Regions from separate parts of the Homo sapiens genome. Here region 1 is linked to region 2. The links are contacts of gene promoters, found by promoter capture Hi-C in blood cells and fetal thymus (Javierre and others, 2016). All regions are on one chromosome and are shown on one strand. Each heading gives the region's core, a stretch centred on a gene start or on the middle of the fragment in contact. The rest is flanking DNA. Distances are from core to core; before and after follow the strand shown. Region 1 has its middle 240 kb from the start of BCL2. Region 2 holds the start of PIGN (phosphatidylinositol glycan anchor biosynthesis class N).

Region 1 (5,964 bases), core at 1,427-3,926, 890 kb after region 2:
CAGGTGCGTGTCACAGTTGTGATCTTGGAGGCTTGGTGTCATGGCTACACAGAGGTACAGGATCATTGTGAAGAACATGGCATGTTAGAAGGAAAAGCTCCATTACTTTATTTAAGACGTAAAATTATTATAAATGACTCATTATGATCTTTTATCTTTATTTCATGGGAGTAAATTGCATGCATAATTAAAAATTGAGTTGAGAATAAAGCCACAGAAATGTACTTGTTTTTTCAAAAGCTTATTTTTCCGGACTCTATGATGAAGTTTCCCTCTGTCATTTTTACACATAGAATATACCATTATTTCCTCTCATGTAATTCTTCTGTAAGTGTAGGAAATGGAGTGAAAGAATCCATATTAAACCATTAATAACTGTAAATACTTTATCTCTCCACCCCCCCAGAAATAAATACAACTAAATCTCGGAAGCCTTTTGATTGTGATGCTTGGCTGCTGAGCCCTCTACGCTGGAAAGGCAGCACTATCATATTTAGCAGTGCGTGCTTCCAGCTTCAAACTTTAAAAAATAGTTTAAAAACATCTTCAGGGGCCGGGCGCGGTGGCTCACACCTGTAATCCCAGCACTTTGGGAGGCCGAGGTGGGCGGATCACGAGGTCAGGAGATCGAGACCATCCTGGCTAACATGGTGAAACCCCGTCTCTACTAAAAATACAAAAAATTAGCCGGGCGTGGTGGCGGGCGCCTGTAGTCCCAGCTACTCGGGAGGCTGAGGCAGGAGAATGGCGTGAACCCGGGAGGCGGAGCTTGCAGTGAGCGGAGATCGCGCCACTGCATTCCAGCCTGGGCGACAGAGCGAGACTCCGTCTCAAAAAAAAAAAAAAAAAAAAAAAAAAAAAAAAAAACTTCATAAACAACATACAGTTATACTTTTTCTTATTTAAAATGTTTACATAAGTAGAATTATGATATTCACATTCCATGAAGTTTTGCACTGAAGATGTGGTTGAGGTCTCACGTACGCTTATCTTGTGTGAAGGAATGTATGGAATATGAATGCCATAATTTTACTTATGTAAATTGTAAAAATAAGAACAAATATATATAATAAAGACCTTTGGATTTCTGCTTCTGAGGACTTCCTGTTCTCCTTCCCTCCACTTTCCTATGGGCGTGCTTCTGTTCTTTATTTATCCGAGTTTTCTCCATTAAAGATAAATTCTCTGATAAGATAAATACAGTATATATCTTTATTAATTCCTTTGTTATAGATCCTGCAAATACCTTCTCGAGGCCTGTTTTTTCCTCTCTAACGTTGATGGGGTATGTTTTGTTATAAAGATGTTTTCTGTTCTGCAGGGTTGCGTGTCAGTTACAGTTGTCATTTGTAAGCAGTAGAATCCGGTCTGACCAGTTTAAGCAGAAAAGAACTTAGGAGAGACAGAAGGGAGTTCACACAACGTTTGGGACAGATGGGAAAAGAGGCCTGAGACAATGAAAGGGACACTCCCAGAACCAACTGACCCTTTCCGGAATCTGCTGCCCACCCCGGGACCACACCGCCTTTGCCCAGAATGCGCCACTGAAATGACAGCGGCTCCCGGAGACGCGCAGCCAGCCAGCTCCCTCCCGCGGCCCGAGGCCCCCGTGTCTGATTGGCAGGCCTGGTCACGTGCCCGCATTTTGGCTGGGAAAGAGTCAGGGAAGGCACCGATTCAGATTCTCCCTTGGGGAAACAACTAAAATGCACGCAAGGTGGCCTAAAAAGCTTGGCAGATTCACTTTGGGCCATAAAGATATTCTTCAAACTTAAAAATAAAAAAATAAAAATAAAAGAAACTAAACTAAAAAATATCTTCATGAACAACATACAGTTATGCTTTGTCTTATTTAAAAATTTTCCATACATAGAATTATGATATTCACATTCGATGAAATTTTGCATTCAAGATGTGGTTGAGGTCTCACGTCTCAGTAGTGTTTAGTTGCGATTTTTCGTGCTGAGGTCTTTAATTCTTCTGGAATTAATTTTTGTATAATTAGTGTAGGAGTCTTTTATATGAAAAGCCAATGCTTCCATCATCAATGATGGCACAAGCTCATCTTTCCCTGCTGATCTCTAGTGCCACCGCTATCATATTCCACATCCCACGTAGCCCCTACATGTGAATCCTGCATGAACATGGATTTGCACCAGGCTCTCTATTCTGTCCGCTGCCTCTTCCTCTGCTCAGACAACTATATTTTAATTTCTGTGACTGTCTAGAATGTTTCAGAATCCGCAGGCCAACTGCTCCTGCCCACCCATTGTTCTTATTTTTCGAAATTATCTTGGCAATGATAATTCACTTTTCCATATGAATTTTAGAATCACGTTACAAATGAACAGAAAAGTTCTGCTGAGATTTTATTTGGAATTTACTTAAATTTATAGATAATTTGGGCAGAATTGACATGTTTATGCTTTTGAGACCTCTTACCCATTATTCAGATCTTCTTTTATATCCTTTAATAAAACTATAATTTTTTCCCATAAAGCTCTTAAAAATGGTACGTAATGTATATTCTTTAGGTCCTTTATAGTTTTGCTGCTATTGTGAGCTGGCTTTTTTTTTTTCCAATTTTTTCCCATTTGTTATTGTTCACATTCAAAAGTTATTGAATTTTGCATGTTGATCTTGTAATCAGTAGCCTTGCTGAATCCTTTTTTAGTTCTAAAAGATTTTCTGTTGATATCTATGCATTTTCTTTGTTCTTTCTTTCTTATTTTATTTTATTTATTTATTTTTTTGAGACAGAGTTTTGCTCTTGTTGCTCAGGCTGGAGTGCAATGGTTCGATCTTGGCTCACTGCAACCTCTGCCTCCCAGTTCAAGTGATTCTCCTGCCTCAGCCTCCTGAGTAGCTGGGGTTACAGACACGTGCCACCACACCTGGCTAATTTTTTTGTATTTTTAGTAGAGATGGGGTTTCACCATGTTGGTCAGGCTGGTCTCAAACTCCCGACCTCAGGTGATCCACCTGCCTCGCCCTCTCAAAATGCTGGGATTACAGTCATAAGTCTCCGTGCGCCACCCATCTATGCATTTTCTATGCCTAAAAATAATAAATTTTCACTTCCTTTCCAAACCTTATGCATTTTATTTATTTGTTGCTTACTGCATTCGCTAGTATTTTCTGTGTAAAGTTGACTGGGGTGGTGATGGCTGCCCTGCTTGCCTTTTCTTGGTTTTAATAGGGATAATCCAGAAAGATGTGATATGATTGCTTTAGGTTTTTGATAAAAACCCTTCATCAAATTAAGGAAGTTCTCTTCCATTTCTAGCTTCCTAAGAGTTTTTCTTTTAGATAAGAGAAGGTGTTGAATTTATAGAATAAAATGTGTCATTTTATTTCTTTTTGATCTATAAATGTTGTAAAGTTCTCCTGATGGATATTTCTGACATTCTTACCTTCCTGGGAAACATCAAAATTAGTTGTGATCGTTAAAAAAAAAATACTCTGGTTGGATTCCATTTGCTAATATTTATTCAGGAATTTTAATCTACATTATAAGTGAGATAACCTATAGTTTCTGTCTCTTGTACTGTCCTTGTTTCATTTTGGTGTTAATTCTACACTATCTAAACTCAGTGGCCTACTGTCCTTTTCTGTTGTCTGGGAAGCTTATATAAGATAGCAATGACCTTTTCCTTAAAGGTTTGATGAAATTCACTGCTGAAATCAGCTAAGACTAGTGTCTTTTTGGGGAGGTGGCTTGAGGGCAGGTATATTTGATTGTCAAATCAATTTCTTTAATGCTAATTGTTTTATTCAGTTTTTCTATTTTAAAATTCAGCCAATTTCAGAATAGACATAAAATTGTGCCACAGATTCCCTTATGATTTTGTTTCTGCTGCATATGTGGTTACATTATATTTTCTATTCCTAATGTTTATTTGTTCATTTTTCTTTATTTATCAGCCTTAATGGGGATTTATTTTATTAGCATTATTTTTCTTTTCTAAGACTCATTCTGTCATTTCTATTTTACTTTTGTTTCCTTTTCTTATTTTTTTGTTTTTATCTTTAATATTTCTTTCCATCACATTTTTTTTGCCTAAACTCGTTGTTCTTTTTCTATCTTCTTGAATTGACATGAGTTCATTTATTTCATCTTTCTTATGGTTCTAAAAATATTTGTAGTGCTATAAATATTTCCCTTAACTATTGCTGTACCCTAAGTCTTGGTATTTTTCTGTGCTTTCATTAATAATCAGTTTTAAAATACTGTATTATTTTTAACAGCTTCATTGAGATATATTTCACACCCTATACAACTCATCCATTTAAAGTGTATAACTCAATGGCTTCTAATATATTCACAGAGTTGTTGATATGGTTTGGCTGTCCCTACTCATATCTCATCTTGAATTGTAGCTCCCATAATTCTCACGTATTGTGGGAGGGACCCAGTAGGAGATAACTGAATCATAGGGGCAGTTTTCCCCATACTGTTCTTGTGGTAGTGAATAAGTTTCATGAGATCAGATGGTTTATAACCATCTTTTCGCTTGGCTTTCATTCTGTTTGCCTGCCACCATGTAAGATATGGCTTTGCTCCTCCTTACCTTCCGCCATGATTGTGAGGTCCCCCCAGCTATGTTGAATTTTGAGTCAATTAAACCTCTTTTTTTAAATAAGTTACCCCATCTCAGGTATGTCTTTATCAGCAGTGTGAAAACGGACTAATACAGTTGTACAACCTATCATCACAATCAACTTTACTTACTCAGTTATCAGTTGATGCATACTTGGGTAGTTTCCAGTTTGGGCTATTATAAATAATGCTGCTATGAACATTTGTGTGCAAGTTTTTGTGGACATGTGATTCATTTGGCGTGAGTATATATGAGGAGTAGAATTGCTAGGTCATTTGGTAACTTTATGTTTAAGCTTTTGAGGAACTGAAGACTGTTTCCGAATGACTGTACCATGTCAGTGTAAGAGGGTTCTAATTTTTCAACATCCTCACCAATGCTTGCTATATTTGTCTTTTTTACTATAATCATCTTAGTGGCTGTGAAATGATATTTCGTTGTGGTTTGATTTGCATTTCCCTGATGGATATTTAAGGGTACTCCGTGATACTGGGTTGATCATTCTATTTCCAGGTGACTTCACTTCTAGGTATTTTTTCATTTATGTTTCCTAAAAAATTAATTTTTAAAGAGAAAAATCATCATAGGATACTCAAATTTCCATTTTAAATTTAAGATCACAGGGTTTTATTCTTTGGTTTGTATTTGGATCTCTTTTTCTCTCACATTGAAAATCTGGTTTCTAATGACATTAGCATAATTACATATTTGTTTCATTCTACAAAATACATATAATAGTTTCACAAGAACAAAACCAATATTTAAAAATTTTGTTCTATTCTTTTTGTCCTTATTGTATGCCAAACTGGATGTACAATTAGATTACTGCAATGCACCAAATTGGTGGTTCTTAACAGGAAACAGCTGCAATCCTAAGAATCTTTGAGAAGCGTCCATCAGCTGTCTAAGCATGCAGCAATGAAGCAGGTGGTTCTCAAGTATTCACTGGGCATATCAGGTCTGCCCCAACACCTGGTTACATCCTTATTTGGAGACTGATAGCCTCAACTCTTCCCCTACCAATCAGATTTCATGGGACTGCAAACTTTAACACAGAGTAATACAGAGAAGGGGATGCTGGGAAATGCAGTTTCAGGCTTCTACCTTACACAATTCAGAGAAGACTGTAGGAGGAAGTGGTGATGATGCCAAGCTGATACAGACACAGACACATCCATTCAGTGCATCAATCTTTATGTCTTCTCTTGTCTTACTAGCCTCCAGGAAAATGTTGAATGGAAGTACTGAGAGTGAACATCTTTGTCCCGTTCTTGATTTTATAGGGCATGCTTCCAACAATTCTTCTGTAAGGATGTTTTTTGTACATACTTTCTCAGGTTAAGGAAGTTTATTCACTTCTAAT
Region 2 (6,665 bases), core at 3,936-6,435:
CACACAGCATCATGCCCAGGTAATTTTGTATTTTTAGTAGAGACAGGGTTTCACCATGTTGGCCAGGCTGGTCTCAAACTCCTGACCTCAGGTGATCCACCTACCTCATCCTCCCAAAGTGGTGGGATTACAGGCATGAGCCACCATGCCCGGCTGCCTTCTCCTTTTTAATAGGCTGTTATCACTTGGCTTCTATGAACATTACTGCTTTCATTTTTCACCTACACCTCTGACCAATGTTGAACAGTCTCTATCTGATCACTAAATTTTGGAGTTACTCAAAACTTGGTCCTCAGCTGTCTTTTCTTCTCACTCTATACTTTCTATCCTGGCAAGTTTCATCATATCTGTGGCTTCAGTTATTACCTAATATGCAAAAGCCTCAACAAATTATAGCTCCAAATCCACATATGTAACTCGAACCTTTATAAATCTACATGGACGTTTCAAAGACACTCAACTAAGTAGGTTTAAAACCAAATTCATAACATTTCCCATGAGCCTTGTCTACTACCTACTAAATCCTTAGTGTTCACAATCTCAGTAGGTGGCACCACCTTCCCACCAAGTATGTAAGTCTGAGAAATAGGCATTGTTCTTTACACCCTATTCTTCCCCTTTATTTAATCTAACAATTGTCCACTTTGTGTTTCTTGAATCTGTTCATTTGTCTTAATCTCCATTGACACCTCTATAATTTAAGATGTATACCATCTCTTATGCGAACTACTGCAATGCAGGAATAGGTCACCCCTATATACTCTAACCCTTCTCTGATCCATTTCTTGCCATGTAGCCAGAGTATTACTTGCTTTTCTTTTTTCAAAAGAAAATCTGAACATCTTACCCCTTGTATAAAACTCTCCAGTGCCTTCTGTGAAGCATTCACTGTCTTTAAAGTCAAAAGACACGTTTGCAACAACACGGATGTTCCTGAAGCCTGGTATGCTAAGTGAAATAAGCCAGGTGCAGAAACACAAATACTGCATGATTTCACTCCTATGTGGAACTTAAGAAAGTTGACCCCACTGAATTAGAAGCAGAATGGTGGTAACCAGAGGCTGGGGTAGTTCCACAGCGGGGGGCAATTGTAGAGATACTGATCAAAGCATTCATATTAGAGTTAGATAGAAGGAATAAGTTCAAGAGCTCTGTTGTACAGCATGGTGACTCTAGTTAATGATGATATATTGTATTCTTGAAAACTGCTAAAAGGGTAGATGTTCAAATTTCTCATCACAAAAATGATAACTATGTGTAAGGTAATGCATTTGTTACTTAGCTAGATTTGAGCATTTCACAATGTATATAAACTGAAGAACATCATGTACACAATGAATACATAAAATCGTATATTAAAAAATAAATTTAAAAATGAAGTCACAGCTGGAAAAAAAAAACTCTCCAGTGCCTTTTCACCTACTAATCTAGACTAAAATCCTTAATGTGACTAACAAGGTCTTTTATAGACTAGCCTCTGCCTTCTTTTCTAAACCTGTCTCATAGCACTCCCCTTTACTTTGTAACATCTCACATCACTGGCCCCTTCTTTTATTCAAGTATCCCACTGCTATAAGACCTTTGTAGGCTCAATTCCTCTCTGCAGAATGTACTTGCAACCTATCTTCCACTCTCTCCTAACATTCCATTTCAAGCATCACTTCCTCAGGGACTATGCAGGTGAAGTCAGAAACGAAAACTTTTACTTCAGTTTGTAATTACATAGCTTTGTCTACGACTATTTGAATTAATGTCTGTCTCTGTCACTTCACCACAATTCCATGACAGCAGGACGGGGCATCTCCAACACCCATCAGAGTCTTATGCACTTAGTAAGGACTCAAATGTTTGCTGAATAAATTATTTAGAATTATCATTTCAAGGGTAAATGCAATATGCACTACAGCCACTAGAGGATGCCCTGCTTCTGTTTTTGTTCCTCCAGAACAAGATGTGAAGACTGAAAATACTTTAAAAAAAAAAAAACTAAACCTTTTATGATAAAGTAATTTACTATTAATGTAAATAAAATTGCAGTTATTACAAAATATCAGCATTCACTAACTACTTATTTTAATTAGTTTAATTGCTTAATACTAAATATTACTTAATACTTCTCTTTAAAGAAAATCACAATTTATTCAGATTTATTGAAAAAGAAATACCTCCAAAACAAACACATAACTATTAAAATTTTAAAAAGATATATGCATGTACCAATACAAGTTATCTAGTTTATCTGTGGATGTTTACCACACACTGAAAAACAATAAAACATGAGGTATTACTAAAACCTCAAGTCAACCAAAACTTGCATTCAGAATATTACTTGTGGTTCTTTTAAGACTATTAAAACCTAAAATAATTTTTTAAATACTAAAATGATTGACGTGCTTTGAAAAAAGGCATCTTTTACATCTTCATTGCTAAGGCACAAGCTTTAATAACTATCATTAGTCAGATGAAACATTAGTTGTAAGGGCCTAGATTAATGAAAATCTTACTAAGTAGAAAGGAAATTTCCCAACACTATTAATAATACATTATTATAAGTAGTGATCGGTAATTTTTAATATTCCAGTGTGTGTTACTTATACATTATTCACGAATAACCAAACCTCTGTGTATTGTGGAAAAGAAAAGTACATACTGGGAAGACTGGGCAGTTGATTTCTAATGGGCTTACAAGATCAAACACACAAGTTCATGGTTATAGGATAGGAGGCAGAAATAGAAGCAGAAAACCACAGATTTGTATGGGAAGAATTCCTCTACATGCAAGTTCTTACAACTCTGAGGAAACATTTTAAATCTATTTTCAACTTGTGTTTTAGAACTGAGACCCCAAATTAAAGATACTCCCTTCAGCCCTACTGACTTAATTGCTTTTTCAGGCTTGCACTGCCAAAACGATTGATATTAGTTTTATTTTTAAACACTTGTCAAATGTTCTCAACACATACTAATATTTCAATAATTAATAAGTGACCACAGTAATAGTTATTGTGTAGCAGGTACCAGGCACTGGGACAAGAACATTCTCAATTCTGTGTACTTTCCTTATCCCCTTTGATAGACGAATGCAAGTGAGGCTGAGAAGTTAGGTAACTTTTTCAAGGTCTCACAATAAATAATGAGTAGAATTGGGATCTGAACTTAAGCTTTTCTATCTTATAAGCATAATCCTCTTCAGGAATCCTAAATGCAGGAGATTTCTCAATTTCCCAATCATGGAGATGGAAATATTGTATATAAACAATCCATTTCTAATCATGCCCTTCCCATGCCATTCACTAATCCTCCATTCCTGGATTCCAGAAATTGGTTCCATTTTAATCTCTCTGGAAAATCCAACTAAAATACGGATCAGCAATCCCTTTTGCTAAGAAATCTCTAACAGGATACAGTATTTGCCATTTCAATTCTATTTGGGGGGATTTTTTTCCCCATGTTTTACTTTTAATATATGGCACAGAAAACTATTTATCATTAAAACATTGGGAACTAATGTCCTATAAAAAAATAGTTTAAATTCTTGGTACTTTTTTTTTAAACTTCTAGCAAAAATAAAATTTTAAAAACCCAAATCCCCATTCAAATGAAAATTTTAGTTTATTGAGCCTGGGTATATTGAAATTAAAGCCTACTCTTAACTGTTGGCATACTTTTACATGTAAACCAATAACCTGACCTAAGGTTATGTAAGAATCGTCTATTTTAATTTTTCCATGGAGCTAACGGGAGATACTTTACTGTGGAATGTTTACTACACACTGAATGTAATATGTCACTTACCTGTACACTAAGAAAGGAAATCTAAAGCCTGGAAAAGTGGTCATTTGTGTGTGAAAAAAATAGGAGCCATAAGAAATAGCAGTCTAATTGTATTGACTGGAAATTCCTTTACCTTTTCAGATCATAATCAAGGAATGACATAAAAGATAAACGTTGATCTTCTAAACTTAGGATATGTACTTTATATGCTAACATTTCATCAAAAAAATCAAAACTCTCTGAAGCATTCAACTTTTAAAATAGTTCTAAGTTCCAAAACCTTGATTCTAGCCTGCATGAACGAGTCAGAAATGTTGCAGGAGACAGTGGATAAAGAATCGTTTGGGACATAAGAGAAATGATGTTAATTCCTTTGACTCCTTATTAGCGGAATTGATTTTTTTTTTTTTTTTTTTTTTTTTTTGAGACGGAGTCTCGTTCTGTCGCCCAGGCTGGAGTGCAGTGGCGCGACCTCGGCTCACTGCAATCTTCGCCTCCGGGGTTCAAGCGATTCTCCTGCCTCAGCCTCCTGAGTAGCTGGGATTGCAGGCTTGCGCCACCACGCCCAACTAATTTTTGTGTTTTTAGTAGAGAAGGGGTTTCACCATGTTGGTCAGGCTGGTCTCGAACTCCCGACCTCGTGATCCGCCCGGCTCGGCCTCCCAAAGTGCTGGGATTACAGGCGTGAGCCACCGCGCCCGGCGTGGAGCTGATTTTATAACAACCACTCTTGGCTTAAGTTTACTTATCTGTCTACTGGTGAGACAGCATTAGATATTCTGAAGGGTCCCTGTTGTGTAAATCGTGTATTAAATCCTAAGCGTTTATTGAGTACCTAACAATTTGTTTTCCAACTCGACGATGTTCCCAGATCCAGGCAAATGCCAACCTCAGCGTTCCCTTTTCCGTTTAGTCTCTCCAGCCCCCGTCCCCACCCACAGGCAGGACCACCTCCGGGGCTGAGAAGTCGTGCTGTCGCTAGGCCTCCCGAGTGTGCAAGCATGTGGCAGAGAAGGGAAAAGAAAGGAAGTCACATTCCGACTACAGGCCTGGGCACTTGCTATCCATGGGGACAAAATGTCACCACTGGCAGCAAATAGCGAGAAAAAGTGCAGCGCAGTAGGGAAACAGCGCGTCCGCGGGCGCGACACCACAGTTTGGGCGCCGACACCCTCCGCGCACTGGTCCCTGAACTTTACCTGGAGCTTATCCCGGTCAGGCCTGATCTCGAAAACGAGGGCTCCTCAGCGCGAAGGCAGGACCCAGCTCCATTAAAGCTCTCGGGCAGTGGTCCCCTCTACCCACTGAAGCGATAGCCGGGAGGGTATTCCTAAGCCACCACTACAACCACCCCTCAATTCCGGAACGCCCCCAATACCTGCCCGGCCGCTGCTGCTATCGCGATAATTCTCGGGCCAGTCTCCCGTCAGTCCGCTCCACGCCTTCCTTCTCTGACCAATCATGGAGGAGTCGTGGGTGGAGTTTTGCTTTTGAGCGGAGAGCGGGGCCTTCAATCTTTGCTATCTGGCGCTGGGAATGGGCGGAGCTGAAGTGGGCTGGGGCGGGGCTGGGGCGGGGCTAGATCGGGGAGAGGGGCAGGGGCACGCTCCAGTTCTCGCGAGACTGGAGACCAGGAAGACGCCTGCAGAGCCGGGCTGCTGGTGCAGCAGAGGCTGAGGCATCAGGTGCAGCTGCATCCGGATCTCCTGCCTTGGAGCGTACTCCTTGTCTCTAAGTCGGGAGGCAGGACGTGGTCAGGCCGGGGCTGTGGAGGTGCGCTGTGTCCCCTGAGGCCTAGAGGATTCGGGCTGCGGCCCGTCGGAACCAGTCAGGGAGGCGCCCACACTCCTGACAGGATAAGATGGCGGCGATGGCGCCTGGAGGTAGTGGCAGTGGTGGCGGCGTGAATCCATTTCTCAGTGATTCGGATGAGGACGATGACGAGGTAGCTGCAACAGAGGAACGGCGGGCAGTACTTCGGCTGGGCGCCGGAAGTGGCCTAGATCCTGGCTCTGCGGGCTCGCTGTCGCCACAGGATCCCGTGGCCTTAGGAAGCAGTGCGCGGCCAGGGCTCCCTGGGGAGGCGTCGGCGGCTGCAGTGGCCCTGGGGGGCACCGGGGAGACCCCGGCCCGATTATCAATTGATGCGATCGCTGCTCAGCTGTTGCGCGATCAATACTTGCTGACCGCCCTGGAGCTGCATACCGAGCTGTTAGAGAGTGGCCGGGAGCTGCCTCGGCTGCGCGACTACTTCTCCAATCCAGGCAACTTCGAGAGGCAAAGTGGAACCCCGCCGGGGATGGGGGCGCCAGGGGTCCCTGGAGCAGCCGGCGTTGGGGGCGCTGGAGGTCGGGAACCGAGTACAGCGTCGGGCGGGGGACAGCTCAGTAAGTGGACGCAGCCTGTCACACTCCGGCAGGGTATTTGGGATTGTACGGAGTTACTGTAGGGGAGAGGGGGTATTTCTGCGTGGGTCCCGATAGGGACATTTTAAGGAACGAGAGTATTGGGGTGGGGGCGCTCTTTTGCGGTGGAAGCAAGAGGATCAGGCAATGACTGTTCTCTCTGCCTGCTTCCAACCCTTGGCTGGTGTTGCACTTGGCTCCTGGCTCCCCTACTGGTGTCAGTATCTATAAAATATCAAGAGTTTCTAGTTCACTGGCTATTACGGGACTCCAGAAGGTTCCCTTTTATACTAGTTTATTGCTTTAAGCATTTTCCTTTTTCTCCAGTTACCTGAATCACACTACCAGGAAATAGTGTTACCTGAATTGCCTGCAGTAGTTCTTTGAGTCTGAGCCAGGAGAGAAAGAATAGGACACACTGCTGCTGTCTCCGAAAAGTCAGATGTACTTAAGACCCTTTGTCTTTGGGACGACTTTTTCACCGCC

What was found. Contacts are between HindIII fragments. The CHiCAGO score rates a contact against its expected background, and 5 or more counts as called.
Region 1: a fragment that was not itself captured here is called in contact with the fragment with the promoter of PIGN in region 2 in 1 of 17 cell types (fetal thymus); the score reaches 5.3 in fetal thymus.

Annotation. Positions count from the first base shown.
Region 1 is chr18:63,073,692-63,079,655 of GRCh38, forward strand. No RefSeq gene overlaps it. Among named protein-coding and RNA genes, the nearest start is that of BCL2, 240 kb to the right of the region's middle. RefSeq lists an enhancer at 38-87. The HindIII fragment of the contact is 1,896 bases long and covers 1,729-3,624 here.
Region 2 is chr18:62,181,871-62,188,535 of GRCh38, forward strand. PIGN (phosphatidylinositol glycan anchor biosynthesis class N) reads right to left here and starts at 5,186. Exons shown (of 31, transcript NM_176787.5): 1 at 4,974-5,186. RELCH (RAB11 binding and LisH domain, coiled-coil and HEAT repeat containing) reads left to right here and starts at 5,385. Exons shown (of 29, transcript NM_001346231.2): 1 at 5,385-6,161. The coding sequence starts at 5,636. RefSeq lists silencers at 4,688-4,900, 5,851-6,070 and an enhancer at 5,491-5,700. The HindIII fragment of the contact is 4,021 bases long and covers 3,160-6,665 here.